Linked DNA regions of Homo sapiens: region 2 is linked to region 1. Evidence: promoter capture Hi-C in human tissues and cell types (Jung and others, 2019). All regions are on one chromosome and are shown on one strand. The core of a region is centred on a gene start or on the middle of the fragment in contact, and the rest is flanking DNA. Distances in the headings are between cores, read along the strand shown.

Evidence for each region. The method cuts DNA at HindIII sites, captures the fragments that hold promoters and counts their contacts. A contact is called where the count stands out against the background at its distance.
Region 2: a contact is called between a fragment that was not itself captured here and the fragment with the promoter of RCVRN in region 1, in 4 of the 25 tissues and cell types used here (aorta, dorsolateral prefrontal cortex, pancreas and 1 more).

What each region holds. Positions count from the first base shown.
Region 1 is chr17:9,900,803-9,906,531 of GRCh38, forward strand. RCVRN (recoverin) reads right to left here and starts at 4,469. Exons shown (of 3, transcript NM_002903.3): 1 at 3,998-4,469; 2 at 187-298. The coding sequence starts at 4,378. The HindIII fragment of the contact is 14,018 bases long and covers 1-5,729 here.
Region 2 is chr17:9,868,310-9,873,997 of GRCh38, forward strand. GLP2R (glucagon like peptide 2 receptor) reads left to right here. Exons shown (of 13, transcript NM_004246.3): 10 at 2,438-2,526. Among named protein-coding and RNA genes, the nearest start is that of RCVRN, 34 kb to the right of the region's middle. The HindIII fragment of the contact is 5,557 bases long and covers 1-4,260 here.

The DNA of each region.
Region 1 (5,729 bases), core at 3,219-5,718:
GGCTCCTGCTCACCCTTAAGGCCATTCCCCTGTCCAACCCTTCAAACAGCTCTGAAAATGCACAATGGAATGAGGTGTCCCCCATCCTGCCTGGACACTGTGACTCAGAAGAATAAATCTTGTTGGGATTTCCAGGAAACAGCCCATGGTTGAAAAATCAAAGGCAATGAAGGAAAAGGAATTCACCATCATCATTCTTTCCAAAGTACTTCCAGATCTTCTCGGCTCGCTTTTCCGGCGTGTTTTCATCGTCTGGAAGGAGCTTCACGTCCTCGGGAGTGATCATTTTGAAAATAGCCTGTACCAAACAGAAAGAAAGAACTCGTTAGGAGGAACTTTAAGGGGCTGGCAACCCTGGAAAATCCACATCTTACACTGTACACAAAAATCTACTCAAAATGGATTAAAGACTTAAACATAAGACCTCAGACCGTCAAACTGCTGGAGGAAAACGTAGGGGAAAAGCTTCTTGGCACTGGTCTTGACGATAATTTTTTGGATATGACACCAAAAGCAAAGGCAACATAAACCAGAATAAACAAGCAGGATAGCATCACACTAAAGAGCTTCTCCATGTCAGAGGAAACAATGAACAAAATCAAAATGTAACTTATGGAATGGGAGAAAACATTCGCAAACCATTTGCGTTCTGCCTCCCCGGAGACACCTGTGAGCAGGTCAGGCAGGGGCAATAATGGCTGTGAAATTATCCTGGAGGGAAGGTCGACAGCTTTGAGAAGTTTCCCTTCAGCCCCCTGGTGCTGGATAAAGGAGTAAAGAGGCCAAAGCCACAGCCCAGGGCAGCAGCGTCGCTGGCAGCACTCAAAGCCCTGAGCTGGACGCCAGTGTAGGTGGCTCCTACACTCCTATCCATCTGTGCAGGGCCTTGGGCACCATGTGCAGGTGTGCCAGCTAGAAGCTGGCAGTGAGTGCCTGCCCACCCCACTTCCAACACGGAGGGACAGACCTCCAGAGCCTCAGGAAAGACTGCAAAAATAATCAAATCCTCACCCTGGGCCCAGGAAGGTTATATGGTTTTCCCACAGCAACACTGCTAGTTGGAGTCAGAGCTGGGACTAGAACCCTTCACTTTTAACTCCCTCAGTCAGTGCTCTGCCCATGAACTTGTAATCTGGTGAATAGCAGAGCCTTCTGCCACCTTGCACAGCCCCAGCCATTGATGGAGTCTCCCTCCCTCCCTTTCCTTTCTTCTTTCTTCCTTTCTCTCCTCCTTTCCTTCTCCTCCCTCCCTTCCTTCTCTCCTTCCCCTTGCTTCCCCCTCTTTCCTTCCTGACTCCTACCTTCCCTCTCTCCCTCCCTCATTTCCCCCTCCTCCCTTTCCTCCTCCTTTTATTCAATGAGTATCAATTTGTAGGCTTCTGCTGGGCCCTGCATTGTTTATGCCACTCTGAAGACTTAGTCCCTGTCCCAGGCCACCCAGAGACCCCACAGCCAATCCGAGGGAGCTTTCTCTGCAGGCTGTGCCAAGATAACAATGAGAGAGACACATGCCTGCCAGAATGGGAGGCCCGAGCTGAGCATTGAGGATAAGCCCATGGACCACAAGCTGCATGCTCTGCTGTTTTATTTATGATTTCTCCTAATAACTGTGGAAGATTTTTGTGCATTTGTCATCATGCAAATGAAAGCATGATTGCCAATGCACACAAAGTTATTAACATCTAAACAATAGTCTCTACTAACAGGAATGGAATTAGAAGAATAAGGTAAGTGGCAGGGGCAGGGGGACTGAAAAAGAATAAATTAAAAAAAAATCAAATGAAGGAAATTAGAACTGGTATAATAGGAAAGAAATGGAAACAACCTAATGTCCAAAAACATAGGAATGTTCAATAATTTCCACATTTCCATAAGCCAGAATTCCAAGCAGCTATTAAAAGAGTTTTGGAAGAGGTTGGGTGCGGAAGCTCACGCCTGTAATCCCAGCACTTTGGGAGGCCGAGGCGGGCAGATCACCTGAGGTCAGGAGTTCGAGACCAGCCTGGCCAACATGGTGAAACCCCGTCTCTACTAAAATACAAAAATTAGCTGGGCAGGTGCCTGTAATCCCAGCTACTCGTGAGGCTGAGGCAGGAGAATTGCTCAAACCCAGGAGGGGGAGGTTGCAGTGAGCTGAGATCACGCCACTGCACTCCAGCCTGGGCGACAAGAGCAAAACTCTGTCTGAAGAAAAAAAAAAAGTGTTTTGGAAGAATATGTAATGATATGGAAAGCACTCATGATAAAAGAGTAACTGAAAAATGTATGATAAAAAATCGTATGTGAATATGTCATAGCTTTAACATTATTTAAAATTATATAGGTAAAAGACTGAAAAGGTATATACTGATATACTAAGAAAAGTTTTCCCTGGATGTTGGAATTAGAGGCAATTGTTAGTCTCTTTTGCCTAGGTTTCTAAATTTCATGAGTTACTTTTATATCAGATAAACCATTTTCAAGACACCTACGAGGTTAGTGGAAAAGTAATTATGGTTTTTGCCATTACTTTCACAACAAAGGATCTGACAGGAGGACAGTATGGACAGGGGAGAAGGCGTGTTGGGAACCATATGGAAGCCTGTGCGCCTCACAGGGAAACTGTCAGGAGCCGGGGAGCCACGCCGCGCGTGGGAAGCGGGGGCTCATGCGTGGTGCCATGATCCGCCCCGCGCTGGGGAGAACATGAGGACTAGAACTCAGAGTTCATGCCCCCAACTTTGACCTCTTTCTACTTTATATTAGAAGCATATTGTGTGTTTAGAATGAACAGTGATTCAACTTGAATGTGTACTGCTGAAAATTTCAAAGGACATTTTAATAAAGGAAGGAAGAAACAAAGGATGGAGAGAAAGAAAAAATGTAAATATAGTCACGTGTCGCTCAGAGACAGGAATACATTCCGAGAAACACATCTTAAGGCAACTTCTATGTGGGAACATCATAGAGCATCCTTGCACGAACACAGATGGTAGAGCCGACTACATCCCTGAGCTCCATGGTCCAGCCTTTTGCTCCTAGGCTACAAACCTGTGCAGCACGTGACTGTCCTGAATGTTGCAGGCAGTTGTCACACGATGGTAAGTATTTGTGCATCTAAACATAGCTAAACATAGAAATCATGCAGTAAAAATACAGTATAAAGATAAAAAATGGGCCGGGCACAGTGGCTCATGCCTGTAAATCCCAGCACTTTGGGAGGCTGAGGCTGGCGGATCGCTGGAGGTCGGGAGTTTGAGACCAGCCTGACCAACATGGTGAAACCCCGTCTCTACTAAAAATACAAAAATTAGCTAGGCATAGTGGTGCACACCTGTAATCCCAGCTACTCGGGAGGCTGAGACAGGAGAATTGCTTGAACTCGGGAGGCAGAGGTTGCAGTGAGCCAAGATCGCACTATTGCACTCCAGCTCTGGGCTACAGAGTGAGACTCCATCTCAAAAAAATAAAAAATAAAAAACCAAGATACAAAATGGTAGACCTGTCTAGGGCACTCACCATGAGTGGAGCTTGCAGGACTGGGAGTTGCTCTGGGTGAGTCAGTGAGTGAGTAGTGAGTGAATGTGAAGAACTAGGACATTACCGTACACAACTACAGACTTTACGGATACACTTAGGCTACACTAAATGCATTTGAAAAATAAAGTAACTGTGCTATGACGTCACTAGGCAGTAGGAATTTTTCAGCTCCATTACAATCTTATGGGACCACAGTGGTCTATATCGTCCGTTGTTGACCCAAACATCGTGAAGCCAAGCATAACATGGCTGTATTAGGAAACACTCAGATTCTGCTCCGGGAAGACAACGAAGCTGTGGGCAAGTGCCCACCCCTCTATCAATATCAGCATCTCGGAGCACCACGCTCTCAGAGCCAGTGGCCCGCATCCCCCGCTCCACCCACAGATCCACTCCCTCTGCAGCAGCTGCAGCAGGGGACCCCCAGCCCGGAGCGACCCCGGCACCGCCCAGCCAGAAGGGGAGAGGGGAGACTGACCATGACGATCTCCAGCACTTCATTCTTGCTGATGGTCCCGTTACCGTCCACGTCGTAGAGGGAGAAGGCCCACTCCAGCTTCTGGTTGGTCTTGCCCGCGGTGGTCATGTGCAGGGCGATGACGTACTCCTTGAAGTCCAGGGTGCCGTCGAGGTTGGAATCGAAGCTGCGGAACACATGCTGGGCGTAGGCCTTGGGGTCGGTGTCGGGGAAGAACTTGGCGTAGATGCTCTGGAACTGCTGCTGGGTGATGCGGCCGGTGGGACAGTCCTTCAGGAAGGACTGGTACCAGGAGCACAGCTCCTCCTCCGAGAACTTGGTGTTCAGCTGCAGCTCCTCCAGGATCTCCTTGGACAGGGCCCCACTTTTGCTGTTCCCCATGAGTGAGGAAGAGTGGGCAGCGGCTGGGGAGTCGCTGGGTGGGTGGGACGTGCGTGGTCCCCTGGCCGCAGGCTGGGCTCAAGGCTGGTGTGAGCTGAAGACCGAGATGCTGGTGGCTTAGGAGGATTTGCGACCAGTTCTTCGCAATCCTTGAAGGGAGGAGGGGCCCAGGAGCTTTGTGGAGGGCGGGAGCGGTGGGGGGGGGTGCTCCCAGAACCCTAGTGAGATTAAAATAAAGAGCCCAGGGCAGGCAGGCAATTCATCTCGGCCTCCCGGGACGATACTAGAACAGGACAGGAGGTTGGAACCCTCAGAGCTGGGGCCTCCGGCACCCCCAGCCCCAGCCCTCTAACAGCAGCCATGTTCCCTGTTTCTCTTCCTCACTAACTCTGAGCATCTCGGGGCGGGGCTGGCATCTCATATCAAGCCCTAGAATGCAATGGTTAGGAGCACAGACTCTGGGGCCAGCATGGGTTCAAGTCCCAGCTTGGCTACTTAACTAGCTGTGTGGCCCCAGGCTTGTTTCTTCACCTCTTTCCACCTGGGACACTCTTCTAAACCTTCACTGCAGTCATGTCTCTGCTTAAATGTCACCTGCTCAGCCAGGCCTATACTGACCCTCTATCTATAATAGCACAACCCCCACCATCATCGGCACGCTGCATGTCCCCTCACCGGAATGAAAGCTCCGTGAAGGATGGGATTTTGTCTGTGTTGTTCCCGGATGCATTTCCATTGCCAGAACCTGATAGGCTTGGGCCCCCAGCAAGTCTTTCTTGAATAAATGGGCATCATAGCATCTACCACACTGTCATTGTGAGGCTGATGTGAGTCAATATGTCTGACACACTTAGAAACTGGCACATGGCTAATGCTAAACACTCGTTTTGTTATTGTCCATCAGTCACAGGGAGTGAAGGTGAACTGCCTGAAGGGACCAGCAGGGGGCAGCCAGGCCTGTGTCACCTCGGGAAGGGGCTGCCAGAGAACGTGGTCACATGGGATGGTGAGATTTTTGGGTTTTTTTAAATTATTCAAGAGAAATCCAAAAATCAGAATTTTTCTTGCAATTTCCACACTTTTCAACTTTGGCAATTAATTCAAAATTTTAATGGTGGCTCACGTCTGTAATCCCAGCACTTTGGGAGACTGAGTGGGGAGATTACAAGGTTAGGAGTTCGAGACCAGCCTGGCCAACATGGTGAAACCCTGTCTCTACTAAAAATACAAAAAATTAGCCGGGCATGGTGGCAGGTGACTGTAATCCCAGCTACTTGGGAGGCTGAGGCTGGAGAATCGCTTGAACCCGGGAGGCAGAGGTTGCAGTGAGCCGAGATTGCACCATTGCACT
Region 2 (5,688 bases), core at 232-2,731, 35 kb before region 1:
GGAAGAGTTTAGGGGTAGATGAGGCCTACCCCTGAGCTCCCGCTATACCGGCAATCACCTCTGCCAACTTGTAGGCCCAGATCTGTGCACAGAAGCTGGGGTAACAAGAAAGTGTCACCAAGAATGTCACATCTGAGAATGCATCTGGGATAGATCCTTATATATTTGGGGTCCTTAGCACCCACCCCCATCTGGTCACAAAATCCTGGAGGAGTTGGCTGGGTTCTTGGAAAATGTCCTCACTCAGCCCCTTTCCTGCTTGTGTGAAAATGAAGAACAGCACCATCCAAAAGTACCTGCTGACTCTTGTCTTCTTGGAAGCCCAGATGAGCAGAGGCTTCATGGTACCCCCAGCTAGGGTTTCATCCTGTGGCAGTGAGGAAGTGCCTCCTTCGTACGTTCTATGGGTTGATGCCCATTTTCTCATGTCTGGTCTCTGGAAGACACAGAGAACAGTGAATCAACATGCTTCCCATTATAACCTTTCATTGCCTAGGAGACAGTCCTGATTGAAATTAATTTGCTGAAATAAATGCCTTTCTGCTGTTAAGCTTGCTTTGTAAGAAAAATGCCTATGTTCAATAAATCACTAAGCCAAGGACACAACGTTTTCTCTTTATGATGAGAGGCAGATATCCCATTAAAAGAAATACATTACTTGATTACATTTACCTTGTATTTAAACTTTCTGTTCCTAAATATTCTTTGGCTAGGAACCTCCATCATTCCTGCTGGCTTCAGGCCCTCACATCCAGTCAATAACAAAGATCATTTGACTCATACTTCTTCATCATTTCAAATTGATCCCTTCCTCTCCATCATGGAAGCACCAGAACTGCTGCTGATTTCTTTTCTCCATCACCGTCCCCCAGGAACTCTGAAACTACTTCCCAACTGATCTCCCCTCCTCCAGCCTTACCCTCACCCAATCCATTCTCCACACTGCTGCTGAAATTATCTTTCTGAAATGCAGAAGTACAAATCTGATCAGGTCACTTGCGTGCTTAAAATCTATCACTGGCTCTTCATTGCTTTCAGAAGAAAACCCAAACTCCTTACCTACCACGGCTGTGAAAGACCCTGCAGAAACGGACCCCCCTCTCCTGCCCAGTCTCACTTCTCACAAACCCTGTTCTCATTCTCCAAGCTCTACCCAAACCCAGCCACCTGCTTTTCACCACTTCCAGGGGGCTCTTGATCTCTCCCGAGGCTGCAGCCAAGACGGCAGCCAGGGCCGCAGCCATCTGAAGGCTTGGCTGGGGCTGGAGGATCAGCTCCCAAGGTGGCGCACACACGTAGCTGGTGGTGGGTGGTGCTGGTTTTGGGCCTGAGAACTCAGTTACCCCACGTGGATCTCCCAACAGGCTGCTTGAGTGTCTTCACAAAATGGTGGCTGACTTCCCCTGGAGTGAGAAACCTAAGAGAGAGAGAGAGAGAAAGAGAGAGCTGGGTGGAAGCCAGCCATCCTTTTGAGGACCTAGCCCAGAAGTCACATAGCACCACTTCTATGACACCATATTCTTTTCGTTAAGTGCAAGTAACTAAATCTAGCTCACCTCACAAGGGGAATAAGGGGGATTAGCCTCCACTTTTGAAGGCAGAAGGGCCAAGGAATTTGCAGGCATATTTTTAAATTTCTTTAAAGGCTGACAATGGAGGGCTGGATTTTCCCAGTCCATGACAGTCGTGGAATGTATTCTAGGGAGTAGAGAGCATATTCTGTCTATGAATTCCATAGCAGCAACAGGATCTCAAGTTAGACACCAATAGGGATGGAGTTCTTTACAGAAGAGAGGCAGAATAGCGTTCTGTTTAAGTGAAGGGAGGGTTATAATCCCATGAATCTGGGTTTAATTACAGGCTTAATCACTGACTAGCCATGCAACCTGGGAATTACACTTACTTCTCTGTGCCTGTTTTCTCATTGTTTTATGAGGATAAAAATAGTTGTGGCTACCTTAAGGGGATGTTGTAAAAACTAGATACAAGAATGCCTGGACCATTCTTAGCCCAAAGCCTGACATGGTGCTAAGTACTAAGTGATAAGTACTCAATACGTGGTAGTTAATAATAATAACAATAATAGTAATAATAATAATGTGAACGTCCACCTGCCTTTCTAGATGGCCTTAATGATGGGCCTCCTTAAGGCAGAATAATAAACTAAATCACTTTCTGAAATTCCTTCCAGACTTTCAGTTCAGATGACCTTTGGGACTTTGGAGATTCAGATGGCCTTTGGGACAGTGGAGATTCAGATGGCCTTTAGGACAGTGGAGATCACAGCTAAGCATTTACTACCTGGCCAGCTAACTGCTGAATTGCCCCTGGTTTACATTGAACTGATGGAACTGATGGCCGAGCCCAGCCTGACCTTGAAGTTCACAGCTATGTGGAATTCGTCACTTACTTACCCAATTCTGCTCTTTTTTTCAAGGTCAATTTCTTCATCTTCCTGAAAATTCTCAAGCTTCTCATTTCTAAGCTCAAAGCTCATCAAATGTGCTTCAGAGATTATAAATACAGGTGAGTGGCTTAAGGTTGGTCCCCAGCAGTCCAAGGTTATTGTAAGTACTCTGGCTGTTCTGCCCGCTGTCTTGGGAAGGACATTTATCTCCTAAGGCCAGGGTATCAGAAAGAGCAGTTCTGGGAAGGTGCTATAGGATCAAGTGAGGCTTTTGTCAATGGTGAGGACCTTCTATGACGATGAAGCAAATGGTGAGTAGTCAAGGGCATTCACATCCCCCAGCAGAAAACTGTTAAAATGCCCCTAAGAGGGCAGGAGTGATGTCTCAGACCTGTAATCCCAGGACTTTGGGAGGCTGGGACAAGAGGATTACTTGAGGCCATGAGTTTGAGAACAGCCTGGACAACATGGTGAAACCCCGTTTCTACCAAAAATACAAAAGTTAGCCAGGCGTGGTGCATGCCTGTAGTCCCAGGCTAAGGTGAGGGGCTTGCTTGAGCCCAGAAGGTCGAGGCTGCAGTGAGCCATGATTGTGCCACTGCACTCCAGCCTGGGTGACCCTGTCTCAAAAAAAAAAAAAAAAAAGTTTCTAAGAATGGGTGGTTGTGGGAAAAGGACAGTCTTGTTTGAAGAGAAGTTTGGCAGTTGCCTTCCTTGGGGAAGGATTTGAAGAGAAGAGATTATTTGGGTGTTTTTGAGACCTTGAGAAATGAGACCACAAACTTTTAGGGTCTAAGGAAAGACATCCTTCCACAGGCATCCTTTAATTGTGACTTGTTGTCGCTGCATCTCACCTTCCTCTTTCTGAGATGACAGCAGTCCTCATTCATAGTCAGTCAGATCATAGGTATTTATTAGATCTGCATTGTTGTAAAAGCAAATGAATGAATGAAGAGAGATAAAGGGTTTCCTCCCTCTTTTCCTAGTTATTCTTTACTTTCTTTCTTTTTTTTTTTTTTTTTTTTTTGACAGAGTCTTGCTCTTGTCGCCCAGGCTGGAGTGCAATGGCATGATCTCAGCTCGCTGCAACCTCCACCTCCCAGATTCAAGCCATTCTCCTGCCTCAGCCTCCTGAGTAGCTGGGATTACAGGCACCTGCCACCACGTCCGGCTAATTTTTGTATTTTTAGTAGAGACAGAGTTTCACCATGTTGGCCAGGCTGATCTCAAACTCCTGACCTCATGATCCACTAGCCTTGGCCTCCCAAAGTGCTGGGATTACAGGCGTGAGCCACCACACGTGGCCTATTCTTTGCTTTCTATGTGGCATATGCATTCAGCAGGGCTCTGGAACGGGAGTGTTTTAACCCACAGAGTAGCTCTAAGAGTAGGAATTTCAGTCCACACAGGAAGGCAGAAGAGGTGGGCACGAGTGAAGATGGCCCTAGCCCTGTTTCTCTCCCCTTTATAAGGCCTCACCCAGGTGCTGGGAAGGGAGTTTTTCCTTTTATCTGACAAATATTTAATAGATGCCTACAATGTGCCTGGTACTGTGCTTGGAATAAAAGGTGGACATGAGGCCAGGTTCGGTGACTCACGCCTGTAATCCCAGTACTTTGGGAGGCCAAGGTGGGCATATCACCTGAGGTCAGGAGTTCAAGACTAGCCTGGCCAACATGGCAAAACCCTGTCTCTACTAAAAATACAAAAATTAGCTGGGTGTGGTGGTGTGTGCCTGTAATCCCAGCTACTCAGGAGGCTGAGGCAGGAGAATCACTTGAATTCGGGAGGCGGAGGTTGCAGTAAGCCGAGATCGTGCCATTGTACTCCGGCCTGGGTGACAAGAGCAAAACTCCATCTCAAAAACAAACAAACAAAAAACGGTGTACACGATGTAGACCCTGCATTTGAGGAGCATGCATTCTACTTTGCTAAGGACTAGGATGTTGGCATGGAGCAGGAGGTGGAACGGAGGGAGCTGGCCACGACCCTAGACTTGCCTACTGGCCTTAGGCAAGTGCCTTGGCCCCTTTGGCCTGCTTTCTGGTGTGTAAAAATGGGAGTGTCACTGCAGACTCATCTCCTGCTTATTATGAGGATTCAAGGAGTCTGTAGATATGGTTATAAATATGGGTGGCCACTCTACCCTCCCTCTAGGAGGTCTAGAAGGGTAAACATACCCGGTTCAATAATGGGCAGACATACTATAGTTGCTAGTTGGAGCTTTGGTCCAAACATTTTGCAAGAAACCCGTAGCCCTGGGGAGCCGGCCTGGCCTGGGCTCCAGGGAGCCACGCTGTCTCTCTTGGCGCCTCCAGTCGAGGCTCCAAGTGGCCAAGCAGTCTCTCTGGCTCCCTTCCCAAAGGCTTAGCCTCTCTCACCACTCTTTCAGGGTGGAGCTTCAAAGCCTGCTCTAGTCCACCCTGCTGGGTGCACTCAGGGAGGAGAGTTCTCTCAATAAACAGGTGCCAGGAAAACCAGGGTGCCCCAGAAAGTGGACAGAGGCTAGTGTTTCCAGGAGACAGAAATGGTGCAGTTGACCCCAAAGGGACTCAGAGCTGACACACTGCTGCTTTGTGCCCCCAAAGCCTATCACGGGCCACTGGCACCTTCGCCATGCCCAAGACCCACAGCAACCCCTAAATAGTTTTTCATCATAGCTCCTCATCAGCATCCCCGGACAGCTGGCCAGAAGTGCAGCCTTGTGAGCCCTACCACTGGGTATTCTGACTCCATAAATGCGGGATAGAACCTCACAGAGCAGCCGTGTCCAACCCTTTGAATGGAAGGACATTTTTGCTTATCCGTTGTGGTGGATATCACAAAAACTATGCATGGACTTTTTTTTTTTTTTTTTTTTTTTAGCTCATCAGCTATTGTTAGTGTTAGTTTATTTTACATGGGGCCCAGGACAACTCTTCTTCTTCCAACGGGGCTCAGGGAAGCCAAAAGGTTGGATACCCCTGCTGCAGAGTCTCCCAGGAGATTCTGATACACAGCCAGTGTGGAGGACTGCTGGGCCAGATGTTCTATTGAAAGAACACATGCTAATGAATAAGCATTAGTTAATCAACTCTATTGCACTCTGCAGAAAGAACTAGTAAACAGAAAGGTGGCCAACGAAAATGGCAGGGAAACCACAGAGGGAGGACGTTCTCAGTGGAATATTCTGGTCGGGCCATTATAAATGTCATGCAGCCTCAATGTTCTCTTTTCCAGAGTCCCCTCTAGAGTTTTCAGACTTTTCTGATCACACATCTCTGTCAGTAAAGAAATTCTGA